Linked DNA regions of Homo sapiens: region 2 is linked to region 1. The links are contacts of gene promoters, found by promoter capture Hi-C in blood cells and fetal thymus (Javierre and others, 2016). All regions are on one chromosome and are shown on one strand. Each heading gives the region's core, a stretch centred on a gene start or on the middle of the fragment in contact. The rest is flanking DNA. Distances are from core to core; before and after follow the strand shown.

Region 1 (5,406 bases), core at 1,203-3,702:
CTCCCAGTCAGGGCACTCAGCATCTGCGGAAGGGCTTAGGAACCTACATATGAAATGAGTTCCCTGGGGTGACTGCAAAGTACACAATAGTTTAAGAAGCATTGGTGGCTATGAGGTGGCTCATGCATGTAATCCCAGCACTTTGGGAGGCTGAGGCGGGCAGATCACTTGAGGTCAGGAGTTCAACACCAGCCTGGCCAACATGGTGAAACCCCCCGCCTCTGCTAAAAATACAAAAATTAGCTGGGTGTGGTGGCGTTTGCCTGTAGTCCCAGCTACTCAGGAGGCTGAGGCAGGACAGTCGCTTGAACTTGGGAGGTGGAGGCTGCAGTTAGCCAAGACAGTGCCATAGTGACATAGTGGGTGACATAGTGAAACTGTCTCCAAAAAAAAGAAAAGAAAGAAAGAAGGAAAGAGAGAGAGAGAGAGAAAGAAAAAAGAAAGGAAGAAAGAAAGAAATAAAGAAAGAAGAGAAAGAAGCATGGATATTGATACTTGCATAGGGAGGGGAAGGGTCCCAAAGCCCCAGCTCCACCACCCAAACTTCAGGTCCCAGGTAGGAAGCAGAGGCACTTTCTCTGTGCCATTTATGGCAGGAGTGGGGAGGTTGGGGGTGGAGAGAGGATGGGGATCCTCTCCTATCATTTTCTAAAGATTGGGGGATTAAAATCTTGATGCATCTGGGTTCCTTGGGAACTTAATGCGGGGTGGACACTGCAGGCCAAAAGCAGTTCTGTCTGCACAGGGGGCCTCTGGGCCTGGAAAGCGGGGACAGGAGCCCAGAGAGTCTGCTGCCTCCGATGCTGCTTCAGCCCCCTCAAGAAAGTGTGGAACCTGCAGGGCCTCTAGATGTGAGTACCCCTTCTGCTGAAACAGGGGCATGAGACCTGGTGGGGTCTAGCTCTCTGTGGAGCCTGGGGAGGGCACCACTGACCCAGAGCTCTCCTCAGGTGCTGGGCCCCAGTCTCCAAGGGCGAGAATGGACCCTGATGGACTTGGACATGGAGCTGTCCTTGGTAAGAAGTGGGTCGGGGAGGGCAGAGGCCAGGGGTGGCTGAGTCAAGCCCTCTGGTCCATAGCTGTTCTCTGTGAGCCAAAGCCGTGTCTCTAGAAGAATTGTCACAGTGATTTCCCAGCTGTCCCCCTCAGCTGCTAGGTCCCCTCCCCAGCTGCTCCCTGCGGTTCTCACGCAGATGCAGCCCTTGGTTCCAGAGCGGGGTGAGCCTGAGCTGGCGGTCAAGGGGTTAAATTCTCCAAGCCCAGGTAATGGTTGTGATGACTCCTACCTGGGAGGACGCCGTGATTGGGCTGAGCTACCTTGATTGAGTGAGGGGGCAATCTGCAATTTGCAGGGAAATCCTGAGTTCAGGCTGCACTGCAGAGCGTTCCTTGAGCCACCCATGCCCTCACCATTGGGCGAGAGTGGGGAGGTTAAGAATGGATGTTTTATCCTAACTGAGCAGAAGGCAGGCGGGCAGGGCTCTCCTTCCCTGAAGAAAGGAGGGGGAACATTTCCCCTGGTGAGCGCAGTCCCACTTCTCCTAGGGAAGGACCCCACGCTCGGGGCCCCACTCCTGCTGGATGTCCAGGCGGCCTTGGGAGGCCCAGCCCTGGGCCTGCCTGGGGCTTTAACCATTTATAGCACTCCTGAGAGCCGGACTGCCTCCTACTTGGGCCCGGAAGCCAGTCCCTCCCCCTAAGACCCCGCGCCTCTGAAGGGGCTTGGAACCAGTCCGCCGCTGCACATCCTTCTTGGCTTCCTGGCGCCCCCTATCGGGGGTGAGCGAAGCCCCCACTACTAAATGGCCTCTCTCCACTACCCCGACTATCCCTGCACATAAACTCCGTTTTTTTTTTTTCTGTTTCTGGTCTCTTTTCTCTATCGACCAGGGAGCACAGGAGTTATGGGTGGGGGGTGATTTTGCATTTGTAGAAGCGTCCAGATACTAGGTTTTTAATAGAGGAACCCCAGGAGGGTGGAGGTGCTTGGGGATCCGGTGCCTAGCTCCCTTGCTTAGGCCCGGGTCCAGGGCTGGCGCGGGGCCGCTGCAATCTCTGGGAAGCGGGGGCTTCTGGGTCGCGCTCAGCTCTGCAATGCATGCGTTCTGTGATCCTGGTGAGTTGGTATCCTTCTCTGAACTTCCTCTGTGACAGGCAGAGAAGAGGGGTCGATGACAAGATAGATGGAAAGCACCTGGAAATTGGCAGGCCCTGAGTGGGCGCTGGACGTGTGGGGCCGCGGGCCGAACTGCCCCCTCCTGGCCTCATCTCCTGGTGCGCCCCGGGTGGGGAGGGAAAGCTGACTACATGCACGTCCCCAGCCAGCGCGCGGCCTCCGCGGTGTGGCTCCTAGTGCCCGGGGAAGAACCCTCACCCTCCCTATTCCCAGCAGCCCTGGCCGCCCCGCCCCCGCCGCAGCTGCTGCACCCACCCCCACCCTGCCCGGCCCTTTCTGCACCGTCATCTCCTGCCCCGCCGAGGCTTGACCCGTGAGTGGGGACGCCCAAAACGGGCCAGACCGGGAGCCCCACTCCCGGCTGTGGGAGGGAAGGGAAACCGAGATTGGGCAGAATCAGCGCCCCACCACCCGCTGCGGCGCTCGGGGGTCGGGGGGGCGGGGTGGGTAGGACTGTGGGCCCCGCCCTGCCGCAGGACTCTCAAGCTCTGGGACTGGGTGGAGGGAGGTAAGGGGCGGGGGGGGAAAATCCGTGCAGTCGCACATGCGCAAAGGCTCTTCACTGTCCCAAGACCCTGGCTTCCTGGCCAAAGAGCCCGCGCAGCGAGGTGGGGTTGGGGGCTGGGACCCAGCTCCGTGCCCCGCCACCTGGCTCTCTGGGAAGAATCGGACCTGTCACCCTCGAAGGACTGGCCGCTAAATAACTTCGGTATTGAGAGCTGTGTGAGCCTCAAAGGGAGGGCCCAGACCAGCTGGAGTCTCTACCCCCAGACAGGATAAAGGGCAGGACTTGGGGTCATAGGAGGAGGCGGCTAACATGAAAACAACTTAGGTTGGAGAGAAGGAGGGGCCAATCCAATCTGCACCCTCCCTGTGTCTGTCCCGAGTAGGTGCTGTCCCCCTCTCCCTTCCTTTGCCCACCGATTGGAGGGACACTCTGGAAAACTCAGTTGAAGAAAGCGGAGAGTCTGCGTGTACACAGTGCAATGATGTCAGTTAATGCACTAGTGAGGGCATGTGTTGTTCACGGTACACAGAAGAAGGAACCACCAGCCCTTGGGACACTTAGGCATTGGTGTAGACAAGGGAACATTTGAGTCCTGGACGATGGATAGGTCCACGGAGCGGAGGGAGGAGAAAAGGATTCCAGTCTTAGCGATCAGCATCAGCAAAGGCTCCGAGGTGCCAGAGGCATAGTGAGTTCTCCGATCCCTGGCTGGTGGAGGGAAGCTGGGAAGGGCCTGGCTGTCCAGGGTGGTGGGAGGAGGCTAGAGTAGCCAGACCAGATATTTTGGGTTGTCTCTGATGGGCAGTGGGGTGTGGGGGGGAGGTAGATAGGTATTTAGGATGGAATTCTGCTAGACAGGAAAATATAGTTCAGTTCCTCATAGTTCAGGCTGGAGCAAGTAAGATTCCAGTTTTACCACTGAATCTCTGAGCCTGTCTCCTCATCTGTAAAATGGGAACAGCAATCCTAGCCCAGAGGGTTGTCAAAGTCACTGTGCTATCGGGCCTGGCAGAATGGGAGTGAGAGGGGCTCAGAGGGACTGTTACAGGACATGAGGTGACGATGGTGGGGTGGCAAGGCAGGAGCTGATGGAGACTCACTGAGAAGTGGAGAAGCAAGATTCATCACATACGGGACATAAAGGGAGATGGAGGGGCAGGGGGTAGTCCTGGTCTCGGCCTGGTGGGGAAGGGCTTCAATGGGAGGAAGCCAGGGTGTGAAGTGACGGGGGAGGTATAGTGTGACACCAGAGGGTACTGAGAAAGACCTGGGAGGCAGGATGGCGGCTAGGACTAAATCCTCTCTCCCAGAGAAGGCCGAGCCTCCTAGAGCCAGAGAAGGAGGCAGAGGAGGGACAGCAAAGGGAAGAAGAGATGGGAGGATGCCGTGTGAACAAAGCCAAGGCGGGGAGGAGAAGAAGTTATTATCAGGGTGGGGGTGGGCTGAGGGCATGGTTCAAGGCCTGATGTCTTTGCCTCCTAATGCCGGGGGTCTTGCTGGCTGGGTCAGGCCACTCACAGGAATGGGCCATAATCCTTGGTTGACAATAAATGGACAAAGCAGCTGGGTGCGGTGGCTCATGCCTGTAATCCCAACACTTTGGGAGGCCAAGGTGGGTGGATCACGAGGTCAGGAGTTCGAGACCAGCCTAGCCAACATAGTGAAACCCCGTCTCAACTAAAAACACAAAAAATTAGCTGAGCGTGGTGCGGGCACCTGTAATCTCAGCTACTCGGGAGGCTGAGGCAGAAGAATCGCTTGAACTCAGGAGGCAGAGGTTGCAGTGATGAGAGAATGTGCCACTGCACTCCAGCCTGGGCAACAGAGTGAGACTCTGTCAAAAAAAAAAAAAAAAAATGGATAAAGCAGATTGACTCTCCCTAATAGCCGCTGTTGGTAGAGATAGTCTCTCAAGAGCCAGGCATGGTGGTTCACATGGTGGTTCACAAAGTGCTGGTAATCCCAGCACTTTGGAAGGCTGAGATGGGAGGATTGCTTGAGGCCAGCAGTTCGAGACCAGCCTGATCAATATAGCAAGACCAGGACAGGCGCGGTGGCTCACGCCTGTAATCCCAGCACTTTGGGAGGCCAAGGCAGGTGGATCACGAGGTCAGGAGTTCAAGACCAGCCTGGCCAACATAGTGAAACCCCGTCTCCACTAAAATAAATAAATACAAAAAATATATATAGCAAGACCCCACCTCTAAAAAAAAAAAAAAAAAAAAAGGCTGGGCACGAGAATCACTTGAGCCTGGGAGGCGGAGGTTGCAGTGAGCCAAGATTGCGCCACTGCACTCCAGCTTGGGCAACAGCGAGACTCCATCTCAAAAAAAAAAAAAAAAAAGTCTCTCAAAATAGTGCGATCCATGGAGGAAAATCAGTCCAAGTTCGGCAAGTATTTGTCGGTATCCTGTATGAGCTAGGCCTTGGGTACTTCAAGATCAAACAACAAATGTCTGTAGGTAATTCCCAGGTCAGCAGGGAGCCAGGTGGGTCAGCAGAGAGACAGTCACATTAGGAGTTAGGGCTTCAGTAGGGAGACAGGTGGGTCTCAGGTGATGTCAAGAGATCTTGGTCAGAGCTAGGCCTGAAGAAGATTCTGGTATCTCTGCTCAGGAATCAGGGGACCAGGAAGGGCCAGGAGACTACATTGGGGTTGCACTATGGTGGTGGTGTTGGTGGGAGGGTGTAGAGGCGGGGCTTGTCCTGGAAAGTTGGATAT
Region 2 (5,683 bases), core at 2,292-4,791, 270 kb before region 1:
CTGGCAGTGCCTCTAACACCTTGGCATGTCTTGGGATTCCAGTCAGCCAGCCGGGCTCTCCTCGGACAGGACTCCTCTTGTTTCTGGCCAAAATTCTGGTGAGGATGGTTGTGGGGGGAAGAGATAAGTCTGTGTTGGGAAAGGGACTAGGGCTCAATTCCAGCTCAGCAAATAAATATTCTGTTCAACCCTCTGCCTGCCCCCTACCTCCCACGCCCCCACTCTCCCACCCCCCGGTGCCTATCAGGCGACTTCCAGCCTTAAGGAAACTTTGCAGTGTGTCCCAATCCCCTGAGCACAGCCACACCTCTGAGCCTTTGCCCAGACAGTTGTCCCAACCTGACCACCTTTCCCCTCTCCAGCTGCCTTTGTCAACCCCCACCCTGGAGCTGGGTCAGGTGCCATCTGTCCCCAAGTCAGCGTCCATCATGTCAGCTTGTCTATGTTCATCTGGGGTGAGCCTGAGGGCAGGAGCTGGGTCCAGGGAAAATTCTAGGACATGCTGGATGAAGGAAACAGTGGGCTCCTGGAAGGGATCAGGGGTTGGGAGAGGACCAACTGTGTGCTCAGACCAGCTGTTCTGTGCCAGGGCCTCGAGGGGGGCACCTAGGAGCCTCAGGCCCCTCAAACCCCACAGCAAACAGCAAGAGAACAGGGTGTGGGGCACTCTGCCTGGGCTCTGCCGGCGAGGAGCAGGAACTGGACAGAACCAGAGTGAGCTGGAGTGTCTCCTCCTTAGCCTGGGCCCTGGGCAGCAGGGCTGGGAATGGAATTCTCCAGTTGGATGGAGCTGTTCCTGGAAAATCCCTATATGCCCTCCCAGAAATGTGCTCTTGTGCCTGGCTCTTGCTTCTTCAGAGTTGGAGGAGAAGGGACCTTTCTGCTGCTAGGCAATTCAGGCAAGGCCCTTACCCTCTCTGGACCCCTGGGCCTAGACTCCAGGACAGATGAGCAGGGATTTGTGCATCTATTGAGTGCCATCTGTCAGCCTCACTAAATTCTCTCACCCACCCTGAGAGGCAGGGATCAGGGTTCCCATCATTTGGGAAGGAGGTAGATGCTCGGAGATGCCAAGTGGCTTACCCAAGGTCACATAGCGGAGTTGGGACTCAAGCCCCTACCGATCGAGCGTCAGCCTGCACGCAGTTCCAGCCCCCGACCTACATTTAGGGTCCCTGAATGGACAGAGCAAGCCCGCAGGCTGAGGATGCCACTGCCAGCTCAGGTCCACCTGACTGAGGCCAGGCCTGGCCCTGTGCCTGCCACTCAGAATAACCCTTGTGGTTCTGGGCATGGATCGTGGCCCATCACCTGGGACCTATTTTTGTCCTTCGGGTAACAAGGAAGTCTCACCTTGTGCAGTAACTGTTTGGGACAAGGATGGAACATATGACCCCCCAACCCCAGCTGATCTTGCTGCCCTGCTGGGAAGTGACCCCAATAGGGAAGGGGAGGGCCTGCCCCAGCCACTTCCCAGAACTTGGCTTCCTACCCTCATCCCCCTCTTCTCAGCAGCCCATACCCCTGCACACACACACACACACACACACACACACACACACACCCCATAACCAGAGTCCCAGAGCATCTACATTTGTCCTTAGGATCCATTGCCACGCCTTATGCAGTGGCAATGCCACTTTCTCACATCTAGCTGTGGACCAAGCCCATTTCCTCAGGTTCCAGTCAGAGGGCTCTAGAACCCAGGTACAGTGGCCAGCCAGGGATCTAGCATCTAGAACTGGACATTCAGAATTGGGGGCCTGGAATCCTATGGGGCAGTGGCTGATGGCATTTGAAGAAATCACAGAAGCTGTGGGCACAACTACATCCACTCTGAAAGGTCAAGTGCCATCTCGAGGGTCAACCCCAAAAGCCTTATATAGAAGGGGGGATTCCTGTATGGAGTGGAGCACAGAGACATAGAGGGCACCCCAGCAGACTGAGAGGGGCTGCTTTCTGCTGAAACTAGGCGTGTACACATGTATGGGGATGGGGTGGGAAGGGTCATGTCCCGAACCCAGTAACATAAAATAAATGCATAGAAAAAAGACTGGAAAGAAATCTGGTAAAAACATAACTATAACAACAAAACCAAGAATGACTGCAGCTGTAATGACAATAATAACAGAAGCTGTTCCATTTTTTGAGAGCCAATTATGTGCCAGCCTCTGTGCTAAGTAAGGGCTTTGCTTGTATTATCTCAGTTAATCCCCACAGCATGCTCTTCTCTGGGTGGGGGTGGGTGGGCAGTGGCCTGTGGGGTGTGCTCTGTAAATGTGGTTGTTTTCTGCCAGGTCTGCAGCTTCCGCAGAGGTAGACAGAGGAGCCCTTAGGCCCCATCTATAGGAGATGTCGTGCTCTCCTTGCCAGCAATGCAGGGTGTGAGATGGGATGGCCAGCCCCCTTGGGGATGCCTTCGGGGAGCCAGCCAGGCCCACTGAGCTAACCTCAGCCCCCACTTGGCCCTACTCCTCTAGGCGTTGGGGCTCAAAATAGCAGCTGCTCGAGAGCTGACAATCAAAGGCCAGCTAAAAAAAGGCCCCTCAGTCTGGGCTCTGTCGCACACGGCTCGTAGAGCCTATTTTAGGGGAGAGGGTGCCGACATGCCAGTGGAAAATCCATAGGGCGGGAGTCTCCCAAAGTGGGAGACCCATATGCCTCCCTCTCCCCACTCTGGCCCCCCCACCCAAGTGCTCACGTGCACACACACTCACATTTTGCAGCCGTCAGCCTGCTTCCTGACCACTGGACCCTGTCATCTCCACCACAGCCCAGGAGAGGGATGAGGAAATTGAGGCTCAGAGATGGGAATTGACTTGCCCAAGATCACGAGGCTGGGAAGTAGGCAGGACAGCCACCAGATGGGGCCACTGTGGCTCACAGTTCAGTGCTCTCCCGTGGAAGAAGCCACATCACTGAGGAAGCCAATACATTGTTCTCTGGAGTGCCCAAAGCTCAGAGATGGGGCCAACGGTGGGGTGTTCTGGGTTGGACTGAGGGTGAGTAGGAGCTGAGGGTGACCTGTGGTCTTAGTCTCCGCATGGGAAGAAATCTCACTAGAACCCCCCAGGCCAATTCTGAGGGGACCTTGCCTGGCTGTGGGAGAGGCAGCTGGAGCGGGTCCTCATCGGCACTGAGCCCAGCCCAGCCCCCTCATCCTATCCCTGTGACCACCTCACGCCCTGCCCCGCCCAGGCCCCCAGAGGCTGGCAGGCCCTGCCAAGTTTCCAGGGAATGTGTCAGATAAAGGGCTGGTGCTCATGACTCTCTCCCACGTAGCAGCTATCTCTGACCCTACTGCCACTACCACTGCCACCGCCACTGGGAGGTGGATAAGAATAGCAACAGCCCCAGTGAGTGGGCACCCACAGGGACACAAACCATGTCTTTAGGTGTCCAGCCTCAGCCTCAGACTGAGGATGAGTCTCCAGGTTCCCCTTTCCATCAGTTCCAGCCCCACCTAGCTCCCCCATCATCCTGGGCCCAAAATCCTACCACATCTTAGGGTAAAACTCCAAGCCTCATCCCTTGTGGCTGCTGCCTCAGCAGGGGGAATCTGGAGGGGATGCCATCGCCACATTGATCCTGAGCTGGGGCCTGAGCCCTGCCCTTCACTGGGGAGCTGTATGACATGGAGCTGGACATTGTCCCTCTCAGGGCCCACAAGCAGGGCAAGGTGGCACAGCAGCCCCTGGAGAATGAGATAGCCAGCCGAGGCCTCTCCAGGGGCTGGGTACCCCGTTGTCCTGGTGACCACAGTCTAGTCTGGCTTCTGAGTGCCCCTGTGAATTCTGGCTTTCTGGTCAGTGGGGATGTGAAGACAGTGAGGGTCCTCATGTCTCACAGATAGGGGTCACTGGGATACGACCACTGGGTGGTGTTGGGGGGGCCCTGCATGAGTCCTGTGACACTCCTGTGAGGGTGTGAGGGTAGCTGCGTGACTACAAGGTAAGAGGCTGTTGTCATGGAACCCATGGTGAGCGTAGTTGTGACACCGGAATCGGGAGATCCAGGGAGCCTCATCTCCAACTGTGACACATGGGGGTGATGGAGGGAGCCGAGTCCCAGTCCCCACATCAGTGACTCCTGCAGCTCTCACAGCCTGACTCATTGCATGGCCCCGGACCTGGTACCCCCAGCCTCCTCGCCCCCGGCTCTGGCGCCTTTCTCTCCTCGCGTCCTCCCTGTTCTCAGGCGACTCTTCCTCTTTTGTACCCCCCCCATGTCACCCACCTACCAAAGGGGTCCCAGGGAGGAGGTCAGGGATGCTAGGGAAGAACGAGGAAGGGTGGGCCGAGGCAAGCTCCTCGCACACTCACACATTCCGATGCGTGCATCACACAGACCAGACTGCAGCATATACTTATACACCCACAGACACACGTGTGCACACACGCCTGGTAGAGTGACTGGGCCACTAAGAAGCCTCCCAAGCTCAGTCTTCCAACATCAGCCCTGTCTGGTAGGCCCCCACCACCCCTTAAGTCAGGGTCCCATGCCGCTGAGGCCCTCACATTAGAAACGCATCCTCCCGCCGCAGCAGTGTGTCTGGAGGTGACACCCTAGGAAGAACTTCTGCCCCGAGGCCCCAGCTAGAGTCCTGGGTGGGTGTAGGTAGATGTGGGTGGGGTGGGGTCTCTGAGGGCCCGAGACTGTTGCTTTCTTTGTGGGTGAGGGCCAGACTGACCTCTGGGCCTCCGGCTTCAAGAGCCCTAATCGCTGGGGCTGGAAAAAGTTTAAAAATATCCTCATGTTTACATTCTTTCCAAGCTGCCTCCTGATCCTCCGTGCTGGGTCCCTTTGATCTGGCCCAGTGCCTCTGGAAGGGGCCTGGGAGAAGGGGAGCATGAGGCCTCTGCTGGGGCCCACCCCTCAACCCCCTCCAGCTCCAGCCCAGAACCCTGTGAGACCCTGGACATCACAGACCCTAAGAGCACCTGGGCACTGGAAGGGAGCTGGGGCTGGAAGGGGTGTCTTGCACTCTTGCTTTGGGGCTGGAGCTGGGGCCCCTCTCCAAACTCCCTCCCAAAAGCCTGGGCCTCTTGGGACCTCTAGGGAGTGTGTGTAAGTGCGGGGATGTAGGTCCCTCAACAATCCATGCACTGGGGAAAGTCACATTTACTGAGCCCTGCAGTGCCTGGCACTGTGCTAAATGCATTGTGCAGGGATTATCTCATGTAGTTTTCCTAACGACAAAAACTTGTATCACCAAGTAAGCCAAGGCTCTGAGAGGTGAAGCAGTTTTCCTGGGAACACATCGCATGGATAAGCACAACACATGCTCTTCTACCCATAGAGCTATTGGTTGGCCCCCACCTTGCTCTAGCAGGGGCGAGGCCCTGCCTACAGAATGAAGCCTGCCTCACTAGCATTAATCTCTACAGGCATTCACTGGCCCACTGCCAAGCCTAGAGACCAATCAGCTTTGTGTCTCTCTTCCTCTGCGACCCAGGATAAGCCACACCCCCTCTCTGATCCTCACCTTTCTCTCTTTCTGTTTATGTAGAGACAGAGTTTCACTTTGTTGCCTAGGCTGGCCTTGAACTCCTGGCTTCAAGCAATCCTCTCACCCTGGCCTCCCAAAGTGCCAGGATTACAGGCATGAGCCACCGCACCTGGCCACCTTCCTCTGCAGAATGGGGCTGAGGATACAGGAGAGTTTTATGTCCCCAGATGCCCA

What was found. Contacts are between HindIII fragments. The CHiCAGO score rates a contact against its expected background, and 5 or more counts as called.
Region 2: a fragment that was not itself captured here is called in contact with the fragment with the promoter of NOL3 in region 1 in 1 of 17 cell types (erythroblasts); the score reaches 6.8 in erythroblasts.

Annotation. Positions count from the first base shown.
Region 1 is chr16:67,168,086-67,173,491 of GRCh38, forward strand. NOL3 (nucleolar protein 3) reads left to right here and starts at 2,453. Exons shown (of 4, transcript NM_001276309.3): 1 at 2,453-2,489. HSF4 (heat shock transcription factor 4) reads left to right here. Exons shown (of 13, transcript NM_001374675.1): 10 at 746-851; 11 at 951-1,016; 12 at 1,194-1,263; 13 at 1,546-1,856. The coding sequence ends at 1,700. RefSeq lists enhancers at 1,510-1,559, 2,050-2,199 and silencers at 2,410-2,699, 4,340-4,503. The HindIII fragment of the contact is 13,408 bases long and covers 1-5,406 here.
Region 2 is chr16:66,900,574-66,906,256 of GRCh38, forward strand. LOC107984821 (a long non-coding RNA gene) reads right to left here and starts at 4,687. Exons shown (of 3, transcript XR_001752244.2): 1 at 4,518-4,687; 2 at 20-95. RefSeq lists enhancers at 1-324, 2,600-5,084. The HindIII fragment of the contact is 9,071 bases long and covers 1-5,683 here.